Regions from separate parts of the Homo sapiens genome. Here region 2 is linked to region 1. Evidence: promoter capture Hi-C in human tissues and cell types (Jung and others, 2019). All regions are on one chromosome and are shown on one strand. The core of a region is centred on a gene start or on the middle of the fragment in contact, and the rest is flanking DNA. Distances in the headings are between cores, read along the strand shown.

Evidence for each region. Contacts are between HindIII fragments. The study calls those that stand out against the background at their distance.
Region 2: a contact is called between a fragment that was not itself captured here and the fragment with the promoter of SALL1 in region 1, in 2 of the 25 tissues and cell types used here (dorsolateral prefrontal cortex and pancreas).

The regions. Positions count from the first base shown.
Region 1 is chr16:51,148,581-51,154,188 of GRCh38, forward strand. SALL1 (spalt like transcription factor 1) reads right to left here and starts at 2,690. Exons shown (of 3, transcript NM_002968.3): 1 at 2,586-2,690. The coding sequence starts at 2,661. RefSeq lists an enhancer at 1,887-2,387. The HindIII fragment of the contact is 9,229 bases long and covers 1-5,608 here.
Region 2 is chr16:51,268,893-51,274,500 of GRCh38, forward strand. No RefSeq gene overlaps it. Among named protein-coding and RNA genes, the nearest start is that of SALL1, 120 kb to the left of the region's middle. The HindIII fragment of the contact is 4,943 bases long and covers 988-5,608 here.

The DNA of each region.
Region 1 (5,608 bases), core at 1,440-3,939:
TGTGGGGAGAAGAATGAGATTGCTGAACTCACTGCAGAAAAGGTGACTTTTAAAAGGTAACCTTGAGTTATGTCATGAACTTTCAATGCCATTTATTTCAGAACTACTCCCAAATAAAAGAACTGGAGTATGTTAGGCCCTCCTGTATGTCCAGCGTTGGGGGAGGATTACTTGTGTACTAATATTATTACAACACACTAAATCCTGAAACCCTATTACAAAATCTACCCTCTAGGCAACTTCTCCCAAACTTATTGTTCAACCATGTAAAAACAGTCATAACCTAAAACCATTACTACTGAAGAAAAAGAGGAGGGGGTGGGGAGAGGTGAGGAAAGAAGGCTGGGAGGGGGTGTTTCCTAGGGAGCCCCTAACAGTTTACTGCTTCTTTAGGACAATGTACCAGCTTTTGCGAAGAAAAAAGAAAGGAAGGAAGAGAAAGAAATCAAAAGAAGGAGAGAAAAGAGAAAGAAAGGAAACTTGATTGAGTTACTTAACTTACCTCAAAGCTCAAATAAACTAAATTGAAAAAAATAGTACTAATAAAGAATAATGGTAAGAGGTAGTGAACTCCTTTTATATTATTGCTTTATGAGAAGACTTAACTATTAAAAATTCCTGATACTGAAGGCAAAAGGCAAAGATCTTCCACGCATCATTTCTCCTCGAAGGCCGAGACTTTTTTTTTTTAAATGTAGAAAACCAGTACAAATTTACAAAACACACTATATAATGCTCTCTTATCTCTAGTTTGCTTTTTTGTGTACAAACTGTTAACCTGAACAGTTTTCCGGTGCAAAAGGTCTCACCAGAAACTTTAGGAAAGATGAGTGTGACTGCGGGAAGCAGAAGAAACTAAGCTGAGAAAACCCGGAAAAATACTCGGCGCAGCTGCTGCGGCCTTGGGTCATCTCACCTCCATCTACCCCGCGTGCTCGCTTTCGCTTGGGGTGGAAAGCGGGGTTCAGGGGCTCTTTTCAGCGGACTGAGAAATCGCAGAGGCCGTGGGTAAGGATTCAAGCTTGAGGAAACACTGGGGGCCGGGAGGAGGGCTATTGTAAAGCATTTCTTAATTAATTTCAAGTCCTCCATTTTTTTACAGGGACCCCAAGTCAGGATTCCCCTTTCCCGACATCAGGGGTAAAGGGAGCGGGGGTCCCTTCGCTTCACTGTGCCCCAGCTCTACCGAGAGGCAGGCCTCTGGGAAACGAGCCGGGGACCTGGGGGCCCGGGCGGCCGCAGCTTAGTGGGCTGAGGTGCCGATCAGGGTCACGCTTCGGAGCTCTGTCGGGGCCCAGCTCCCTCCTTCACACCCCAAAATGCCGCCTAGGGCGTGGGCATCCCGAGTGGCATCCGGAGCCGCTGAGACCCCGCCGAGATTGCTCCTTGTGCGTCCTCCCACAGCCGAGAGGCCAGCATCGTGCCGGGACGACCCGGGGACCCGAGTCCGGGCGCCGCTACACCGCCTCGGGCGCTAGGCCTGGGAGCTTTGAGGCCGGTACCGTGAAACACCTTTAGGAGCAAGGAGGGATTCCAGGTGTCCTCCCTTTGTACCCCAACTCCCTGCCCGGATCTCTTCCACTCTCTGCCATAGCCCCCACACACAAACTTTGTTCTGGACTTGTTCAGCCCCTTCGGGACCCACAGTTGTCGCCTCCATCGGAGAAAACAAGTGCCCCTGTTTCAGGGGGGATTCCACTCTGGCTGGCCACCCGCAAACCTGGAAAACTATTCTATGACTTCTTCCCTGACCCCCCTGGAAGTAGGGAGCACCACGATCCGCAGAGGGCGCATACCGACCAGAAAGATTTTGGGGGGCAGAGGGTGCAAGTGTTGTGGGAAGAGATGCGGAGATAAATTTTGCGAGCCAGACCCCGACACTTTCCCCGTCCGTTTGCACCGTCTCCGGAACAACTGGCGGCCAGCAGCACTCTCCACCCCGGCCGCAACCCCAGCGGGTCAGGCGCTGGCGCCCCGACACCAGTCCCCATCTTCTTGCAGCTCTGAACCTCCAAAGACACCCGGTTCTGCCTCGCAGGCCGAGGGGGAGTGTGCGTGGGGGCAGGGGGGCGCAGCGAACTCCCCCACGCTCGGAGTTCAGCCCAGCGCCCGAAGTAAACTTCCTTACCGCTGGCAGCAAGGCCGGGCGGCGGAGGCCGGGCCGGGTGCCCTGGGGCCGGCGCCGGGAGCGCTAGGGGCCCCGTGCGGTCAGGCCGGGGCGACCTCCACCCGCACCCACGCCTCATGGGGCTCCCGGGTCTTGGCCGCGGCTGGGATCCCCGGAAAAGCAGGGACGGAGAAGCCAGGCCGGCATGCCCGCCCTCCTTCCCCCGGGAGGACCCAACAACTCCGGAAAGATCCTGCCGGGAGATGTGCTCGCTTTCCCCGGGGCAGCGGGGGAAAGCCCAGCAAAGGCACATTGAAAATTAAAAAGAAAAAAAAAATTACGCCGAGTGGAAGAAGCAATCGGGGCCGCGGCGGCGGTGAGGTAGGGGGCGCGGGGGCCAGCCGCGTGTGAGTGGGTCCGAGTGTGCGTGAGTGTGAGTGCGTGTGTGTGTGTCCACGGCGCGGGCCGGAGCACTCACCATCTCGCCGGGGGAGCGAGGCCACTTCGGGGTCGGATTGGAAATGTTGAGGCTTCGCTTGCTTCCTCCGCGACATGCTGGCTCAAACATCAGCTGGGGCAGAATAAAAAATTACTAAAAAAAAATCTTCTCAAAATTACGGAAATCGAGCGGCGGCGGCGGCGGCGGCTCCCCCCGCCCGCCGGCCCGCCCGCCCCCTCCCCGGCTCCCCGGCCCCGGGCGCAGCGCGCATGTGTCCTGCTATAATTATGATTATCAATAATGCATTGCGATTAATCATAGAGGGGCTCTTTGAAAGGCGATTGGCACCGGGCCAGCGCTATTCAAACCCGCTCGCCTTAATCAATTAGTTCGTGATTTGCTGCAGACCCCTGTCTCTCCGCGCGCTGGCCCAATAAGCCGGCCGCGGGGCTGGCTCTGCGCGCCGCGCCGCCCGACACTGGGTTAACCCTCTTTGCGACCGCCCGGGACTCCGCGGCCCGGCCGCCGGGGGCCGGCCTCCTCTCCACTGCGGGCCCGGCGCCCCGGCAGGCGCCCCCCGCTCTCTCCCTCTCCCCTCCCTCTTCCCTCCCTCCTTCGCCCCCCCCCACAATCCCGGGCTGGGCCGACCCAAATTAGCATGCCCTCCCCGGAATTGAGCCGCCCCGGGTGGGGGGTGGGGCCGGGCGGCGAGGGCTGGGGACCCGGGCTGCCGGCGCGCTGCGAACTTCCCAACTCGGGGGCGAGGCGCGCCGGCCCGCGGGGGGAGGGAGTCCCGCGGCGGGATCAGGGGGGAGGGCGTCCCGTTTCGTGAGTGTTTCTTCGTTTCTTTAAGAGCTACCAGAAAGCAGCCCACCCCCACCCCCATTAAAAAAAAAAATAAGCGAGTGGGGAAGAGCCAGCCCCACGCCGGTCCGCCTCCCGCCCACGGCTCGGCCTCCCTCCCGCCTGGCTCGGCGCTCCTCCGCCCCGAGTTCTCCATCCCCTGGATCCCGGGCTCGCGGGGGCGCGGAGAAGAGGATCCAGGAAAGGTTTGGGAACCTGATGGGTTTGTGGCTGGGGGGAGGGGCAGTTCTCCCGCCACCCCATCCCCTCCCCGCCAGGGGCACTGATCCTCCAGCTTCTTGCTTGCTCCCTCGCTCCCTTTCTCTACCTCGGACATTCCCAGGACAATTAGGGCTGAAGTTTTCGGGAGAAGCAGCCCCGAGCCCGTGGGATAAGGGGGCGGCCCGGCTCCGCCCAGGACCCCTCCCGGACCTCCCCCCCGGCTGCCCCGGTTGGCTGCAGGGCGCGTCACTCCGCGGGGAGGCGGCGGCAGCGGTGGCGCCGCAGAGCCCCGGGCGGGCGGAGAGCGGGGACCGGCCTGGGCTCCGAGTTCAGCTCCGGCCGGGGGGAGGGGAGGGGCTGCGGCTCACACTGAGCGCAGCAGCGAGCACCGGCCTAGGGAGACACAGCCCGGGCGGACCCGGCACTGGACTGGGCCAGTCCCTGGGACCCCTGGGCACCCCGCCCTGGGGAGGGGGCCGCGCCCCAGCCTTCCGGGACGAGGTGGCGGCGCAGAGCCGGAAAGCGGGGTGGGGGGAGGGCGGTGGGGAGGTGTTCTGTCCGAGGCTGCCTGGCGGCGCCGAAGCTCGCCTCCACTTTTTGGGCACTTGCCGAGCGCGGCGCCCGAACTTTTCGCTCTATCACCATCTCCCTCAAGCTGAGATGCAACCTCCCTACCCTCGCCCCAGAGCCCAGAGCCAGGAGCCCGATCCCTCTGCCGGGCTCAGGCGCCCGCGAACCTGAGACTCGGTACGCGGCTCAGCCTAGCTCTTTCCCCTCGCGCCTCGGGGTCTCCTCGCTCCAAGGTTCTCGAAGTCTTGCGCCCGAAGGACTAAACTAAACTAAACTTCGGCTGAGTAATGGGGGAGGAGGGGGGTGCAGATACACAATCCCTGCCCTATCTCACGATCAGGAAAGGAGAGGGCTCATAAGGACGCCCCAATTCGCGAGCGCCCTTGAGTCTGGCCGGTGCCACGGTCGGTTCGCGCGAAGTGGGCACCGGTCTCCCGAGCCGACTTCGTGTACTCCGGACCTGTACTGCGCTCCGGTAGAGGACCCTTCCCTTTCTCTTAGCTTCTTAAATCTTTTCTTTTAAGGTGTAAATGTGTGTGTGTGCCGATGAATGTTTCTGTTTTTCATCTGCTGACTTTATTTTTTTTTATTGGTATAACTTCTCCCTTCTCTCTCCCTGCTCGTCCGTTTTCCACCTTTTCTCTTACTTATCTTCTGCCCTCGCTCACTCCCTAACACACACATTCACACCCTCTCCGCCTCGCTCTCCCGTTCTCGCCAGGTCCTGATGGGTACAGTAGATTTTGATAAAAAGACAAACGAAGCTATCAGTGGGGCTGATGTTGAAGAATGAAGATAATAATGTTTCCATAGGTGGTGCTTCAAATGCCATTATTTCTCACTGAATATTTAAAGAGATCCCTCGGCAAAGATGGATCTGCGCACTCCTGGGGTGTGAGCGGCTCGCATCTCCCAGACCCCGGGGAACGTGTACGGGAGCACGTGTAAATCCCGCACCCGCCTCCATCTCACAAACAGGGGTCCTCGCACACCCACCAATCCACACTGTCCCAGGTACACGAACGCGTTTGTGTGCACTTGCACACTCCTTTCCCGGAATGTGCCCGTGTTTGGAGCCGCCCGCATCCTTCTCTAACAATCTTGGCTTCTTGAAAGTCCGGGCCTCCCGGGCACCGCATGCAGCCAGGAACCTAGCGGAGCTGGCGGTCCCGCAAAGCTTTTCTCCTGGTGCGCGCCGCGTGCGCAGCAGGAAGCTCCCGGGAATAACTTCACACGTGTTTGTTACTTGGTCTACGTGTGATTTAAGATTAAGTGTAGGAAAAAAAAAAATTCCCCCCCCCCAAAAAAACACCACAACAAACAACCAAACGAAATGAACATGCGAAAAGCAGCTACGCGATGCTTAATTAAAAATGGGCGAGCAGAGACGAATAAATTGGGGGATCCAAACTTTAATAACTTTTTTC
Region 2 (5,608 bases), core at 2,209-4,708, 120 kb after region 1:
ATTTTACCCAGAGACCACAATGATTGATTGGTTCGAGAAAAGACATGTGACTTCAACTGAGCCAATAGGAAGTCTTCCCTGGGATTTAAAAAATTTGAGCTGAGAAGGATGCATGTTCTTCTCTGATCATGAGGCTCTAAGAATATAAGGCCACAGCTACTAATGTTCATGCCCTCTGGAGTATAAAGAAAGACCATAGGCAGTATGATGTGCTCCACTCTCACTCACCTGCAAGCCATTCCCCAAACACAACTGGACTAGAATGATAACAGTGATTGTAATACTCATTGTTATTTACCCAGCATTTAGGGTCTGTCTGTGCTCAAGATGCTCTCATTCTGGAGCTTAAAGCTGAGCTCTCCCTTCTCTGAGCTCTCAGGACGCCAGATTTGCCCTTCTTTTATGGCAATTACCACATCCTGTGGTGAATTGTTCATTCGCAATCATTTACTGGTACTTACCACATGGAAGCTACTGTACTTAGCACTGGAGAGGAATATGGAAATCTACAACATGGTTTCATGTTAGATTAGGGCAAGGGCATGGATGACTGCTGTTAGTCAGACAAGCTTATGCTGAAACAGTCTGAAACAAACAACCTGAAATTATTAGGTGGTTTTTGCACCCATTGGGAAGGGCTGAGGACTGCTTCCCAGGGCCTGTATTCCAGGACCCTCGCTAAAGAAGCAGCAGTATGTGGCAATAGGAAAAGAGAGCATGGCACACTGAGGCTTGAATCTTCTGCCTGGAAATGACGAGTCACTCATGCTCACATTTCATTGGCTAAAACAAGTCACCTGGCCATGCCTGAGCTCAATAGGTGAGGTAAGGACCATTCTTCCAAAGGAGAGATACCAAAGCTTTCTGAGCACAATACTGTCTACTACACTTTCTTCTCTTGGCAGCTGGGCAACATCTTATCACTGTAACCTTCCCAGTGGCCACCCTTGCACTTTGCACCTAATGAGTACTATGTTAGTTTGTTCTTGCATACTATAAAGGAACACCGGACGCTGGGCAATTTATAAAGAAAAGTGGTTTATTTGGGCTCACAGTTCTGCAGTCTGTACAGGAAGCATAGTGCTGGCATCTGCTTCTGGTGAGACCTCAGAAAGCTTCCAATCATGGTGAAAGGCAAAGGGAGAGCCAGAGTATCACAGGGTGAGAGGAGGAGCCAGACAGAGAGGGGGAGGTGCCACATTCTTTTAAACAACCAGATCTTGTGTGAACTCAGAGCCAGAACTCACTCATTATCTGAGGAAAGCACCCAAATTCATGAGGGATTTGTCCCTGTGACCCAAACACTTAGCATGAGACCCACCTCCAACACTGGAGATTACATTGAACGTGAGATCTGGAGGGGACAAAACACCCAAACCACATCAAACACTGAAGGATTACGTGCCCTCTTTCCTTTGTACCACTTATTGCAATTGTAATAAACACTCAGGCCACTGTATGTTTAATGTCTGTCTCACCCACTGGACTATAAATGGCCTCAGGGAAGGTTAATGTCTGTCTGCTGTTAAAGTAATTTAACTATATTTAAACAAAGTACTGCTTAATTGTTGTAACCCAGCACTTAGTATCTGATGCATACTAATACCAATGAATGATTGTTCACAAATATGTGAATGAATAGAGAAAGAACCCATGAAGGCATTGACACCTGCTTCATTCATTTGCTATTCCAGCTGTGGCATATGCCAGGTCCTGTTTCAGGTGCAGAGATGGAGAAGTGATTTGCACCCCATTGTCCCATCCTCCTGGAGCTGGTGGCTTGCTCAGGATCAAATCCAGCCTGCACCTCATGTAACCAAATGAAATTGTCAATAATGAGCTGCCTTTGGCCAATAAAAATGGCAATTTCATATGCTTCATCCCAATCCGAAACAGATGACAGCTCTGTTTGAAGCTGGGAGCCCACCTATTATTCAGTGTTTCCCTATCTTCACAGCATCCTCCTAGCCCCCAGTGCACATTCATGGAATTCTAGAATATAAAAATCTCTGGACAAAATATCCTTCAAGTCCTAAAATTCTACATCCCTGAATCAAGCTGTCATGCAGGACTCTCAGGCACTATAATATATGGACTAGAACATCTGAGGGCAAGTCCCCTTCCCGCAAAGCTGACCTTGGCACCTGATGCATCTGGGAGCCCCAAAAGGGGGTCCCAGGCCCCAGGGCCTGCACATGCTGCCGCACGCAGTGTCTTCTACGGGGCCTGTGCCGGTGGCATTGATCCCTCTGCTAACTAGATGAGAAATTGCAGCAGGCTTTCCTTGCATGGCTTTTCCATGCATCTTTGTCAATGATGGTTTACATTCTGGGATTGAACTAATTTGTTTCCGTTTGCTCCTGGCTGCAGGCTTCAGGCAGCTCAGCTTTGTTGTCCCGGGTTCGCAACTTGCCATTCTCCCTCCTCTTGCCTTTCCCCTCCCTAGCTAACCACATCTGAGGGCAAAAAGGATTAGCAAGCTCAGTGTGATGTGATTCTGGCACTTGTAGCCTGGATTCTTCTGCTACCTCAGAGAGCTGGGGTGGGGAGAGTGATGACTTAGTTGCCGCATGGAAGAAAGAGGTGGGGAGAATGAACCTTCAGTGCCCACTTGGGTGCTGCACAGCTGGGAACATCCCCACTCTGACAGCTAGCAAATACAAATGACCACAGCGATGATGCTGATTGCAGTTAATGTTTTCTGAGAATTAGGCACTAGCCCTATGCTAATTCCTTTTCATGCATTTCAGACAGTCCTTTCCATAATCTCTCTCAGTGAGAAGAACTGTTATTTTGTCCATTTTGTGGATGAAGAAACCAGAACCCAAGAGCGGAAATAATTCATCCAAGATCACTCGCTAGGATTCAAGCTTTAATACCTGGTGTGTCTGAATCAAGAATTCGCATCCTTACAACTGCTCCATATCCCCCTACTCCCCAAACCTTGATGCTTACAGGTATCTACTGAACAATAAACATCTTCCCTGAGCCTGAAAATGGTGGAGATGCGGTGTGGATTTCTGGAAATTGGAGCGGAGAGACACCTTTGGGGGGATAAAAGACGGCATTTGAGACACTTGCATTCCTCCAGCTGTCCCCCTTTGGCATGTTTTAATTTTAAAGTGGCAAATGAGGAGGATGCTTCCTCAGGGGTTCCCCAAAGGCCTGGATATTGGCCGACAAGAGGGCCAATTTTCTCACTGACATTCTTCTTCTTAATAGAATAAGTCACTTCAGCTGTAAAAATATTTATTTTTAACCCCACATGGGACTGTCTACAAACTATTTTCATGTTGAGTATAAAACAGTCAAACCTGTAACTATTTTCTTTGTTTCAGAATTGGCCTGCAAAACATCTGCTAATTATTTACCAAAGCTGAATCTATGCAAACTCTACAATCCAGCAATTCCACTCCTGGTGTTACCAGTGGAGGGTCTTGACTACAAGTCATCCAAATTCTTGGCGTTTTGAACAAAAAATTGGACAAAATGCACAAAGAAAGCAATGAAGGAATGAAGCAACGGAAGCACAGATATATGTAAACAAAAATTCACTCCACAGAGTAGGAGCTGGCTCGACCAAGTGGCTCAAGAGCGTTGGTTACAGAATTTTCTGGAGTTTAAAATACCCTCCAGAGTTTCCCATTGGTTACTTGGTTACACCCTGTGTAAATGAAGACTTGGCCTGCAACCAGTCTGATTGGTCACAAGAAGTGACCAATCAGAGGGTGAAGTCAAGTTACAAAGTTAAACATGAAGACTTGGCCCCATGACCAGCCTGAATGATTGCGGGAGGGGACCAATTATAGGTACTCTTCATTTTTCATCTGCAAGGCAGTGCAAAGGGAGTAGCCTCTTATCCTTTTGTTACTTGCGTGTAGAAAGGTGGGGTTTTCCTTTGGATTCAGTTCTAGGAAGTCAGCACAAATCAGCCTTAGGTTTCCTGTCTCCAGACCCTATTCTGCCTCACTGAGTAAATACCAAATAGAAATGAGCATGTGTTCATCTAAAGGAGACCTTCAGAGTGGTGCTTACAGCCCCAAATCAGAAACAATGCAAAGGCCCTGGGCTGGGAAGTGAATTATGGTAGAGTCACATGGTGGACTACTGCGCTGCAATGAGAAGGAGCAATCTTCAGACCAATCCAGGGACATGAAAGGATCTCACACCCATTATACTGACTGAGCAGAAAGGGTAGGACAAAGTAGGACATACATATATCCTGTATGATTTGATGCTTATGATGTTTAAAAACAGGCTAACTCTAACCGTAACCCTCTGCTCATTAATGCTTTTTGTTTGTTTGTTTATTTGAGACAGGGTTTTGCTCTGTCGCCCAGGCTGGAGTGCTATGGTGCAATCTTGGCTCACTACAACCTCTGTCTCCCAAGCTCAGGGGATCCTCCCACCTCAACCTCCTAAGTAGCTAGGACGACAGGTGTGCACCACCGTGTCCAGCTAATGTTTTTTATTTTTAGTAGCGATGGAGTTTGGTCATGTTGCCCAGGCTACCGAGGTGTTTTTAATTATCTTTCTCTTCCCTGCCTTGCCTCCCCATTCCTCTTCCTCACCTGTGCTTCCTAGAATGACCTCCCAGGTAATATCCCTGCACCAGCTCTTGTCTCAGAGTCTGCTTGCGGGGCCTCGGGAACTGAGACAATGCACAATTTTTGTCTTTGTTATGTCAGGGATCATCATTTGGCTCCATCTAGCACCTCCATGAGCCTGGGGACTTTGTCTTGTTCACTGATGTGTCCCAAGTGCCTAGAACAGTGCCAGGCAGATTATTGACACTCATTAAGTACTCCTTAGACATTGAAGAAAATATGCAGACATAGCCAGGAGGCCAAGATCTAGAAAGCATCAAGCTGCCCAGAAGCTGTTTCACTCAAGCAAAAGGGAGCAAGGTCATGTTGATGGAGGCCTGTGGTGTGTATATGAGTGTGTATGTGTATATGTATATATACATATGTATATATATATTCTGATCTCACAATAGCTCTTACAATAGTTATTGTCTTAACAACAAAGATAGGGTAACTGCTTAGTTCTTCGCTGTTGAAGCTTAGTAGAGGCAGAGCATGTCTGTCTTATTTCCGCTGTAGCCCCAGGGCTTAGCACCTAGTCAGGCCATAGTAGGGGCTCAACAGATATTTGCTGAGTAAATAAATGAGTGAGTTCAAACATCTTGCCCAAAGTCACGGCTGGGAAGTGTTGGAGCTTAGATTTGCACCCAGTTTAGTGTGAGTTCAAAGCCCAAGTTCTCTGGCTATTCCAGGTTGCTGCTCCAGTGTGGATACGCACAGAGTCTTTAACTGCTGTCCTTGTCCCCACTGGCTTTCTCATGAGCTTTTCAGATGAAAATGACTATTATTTAAAAATACAAAAGAAAAATCTTCATTGACTGGTTTTATGAAGAAAACTTTATAAAGTTATATATATATATAAAATATGTATAATATATATGTTATATAAGGTTTTATACAGAAAGCGTTATAAAGACAACTTCTTGGTGTAGGGTGGGCCCAGCCAGAATGTGGCCAAAGGGTGGACCCCATGACTCTCTTGCCCTTCATCTTTAAATTCCTGATGGGTATCAGTGAAACTC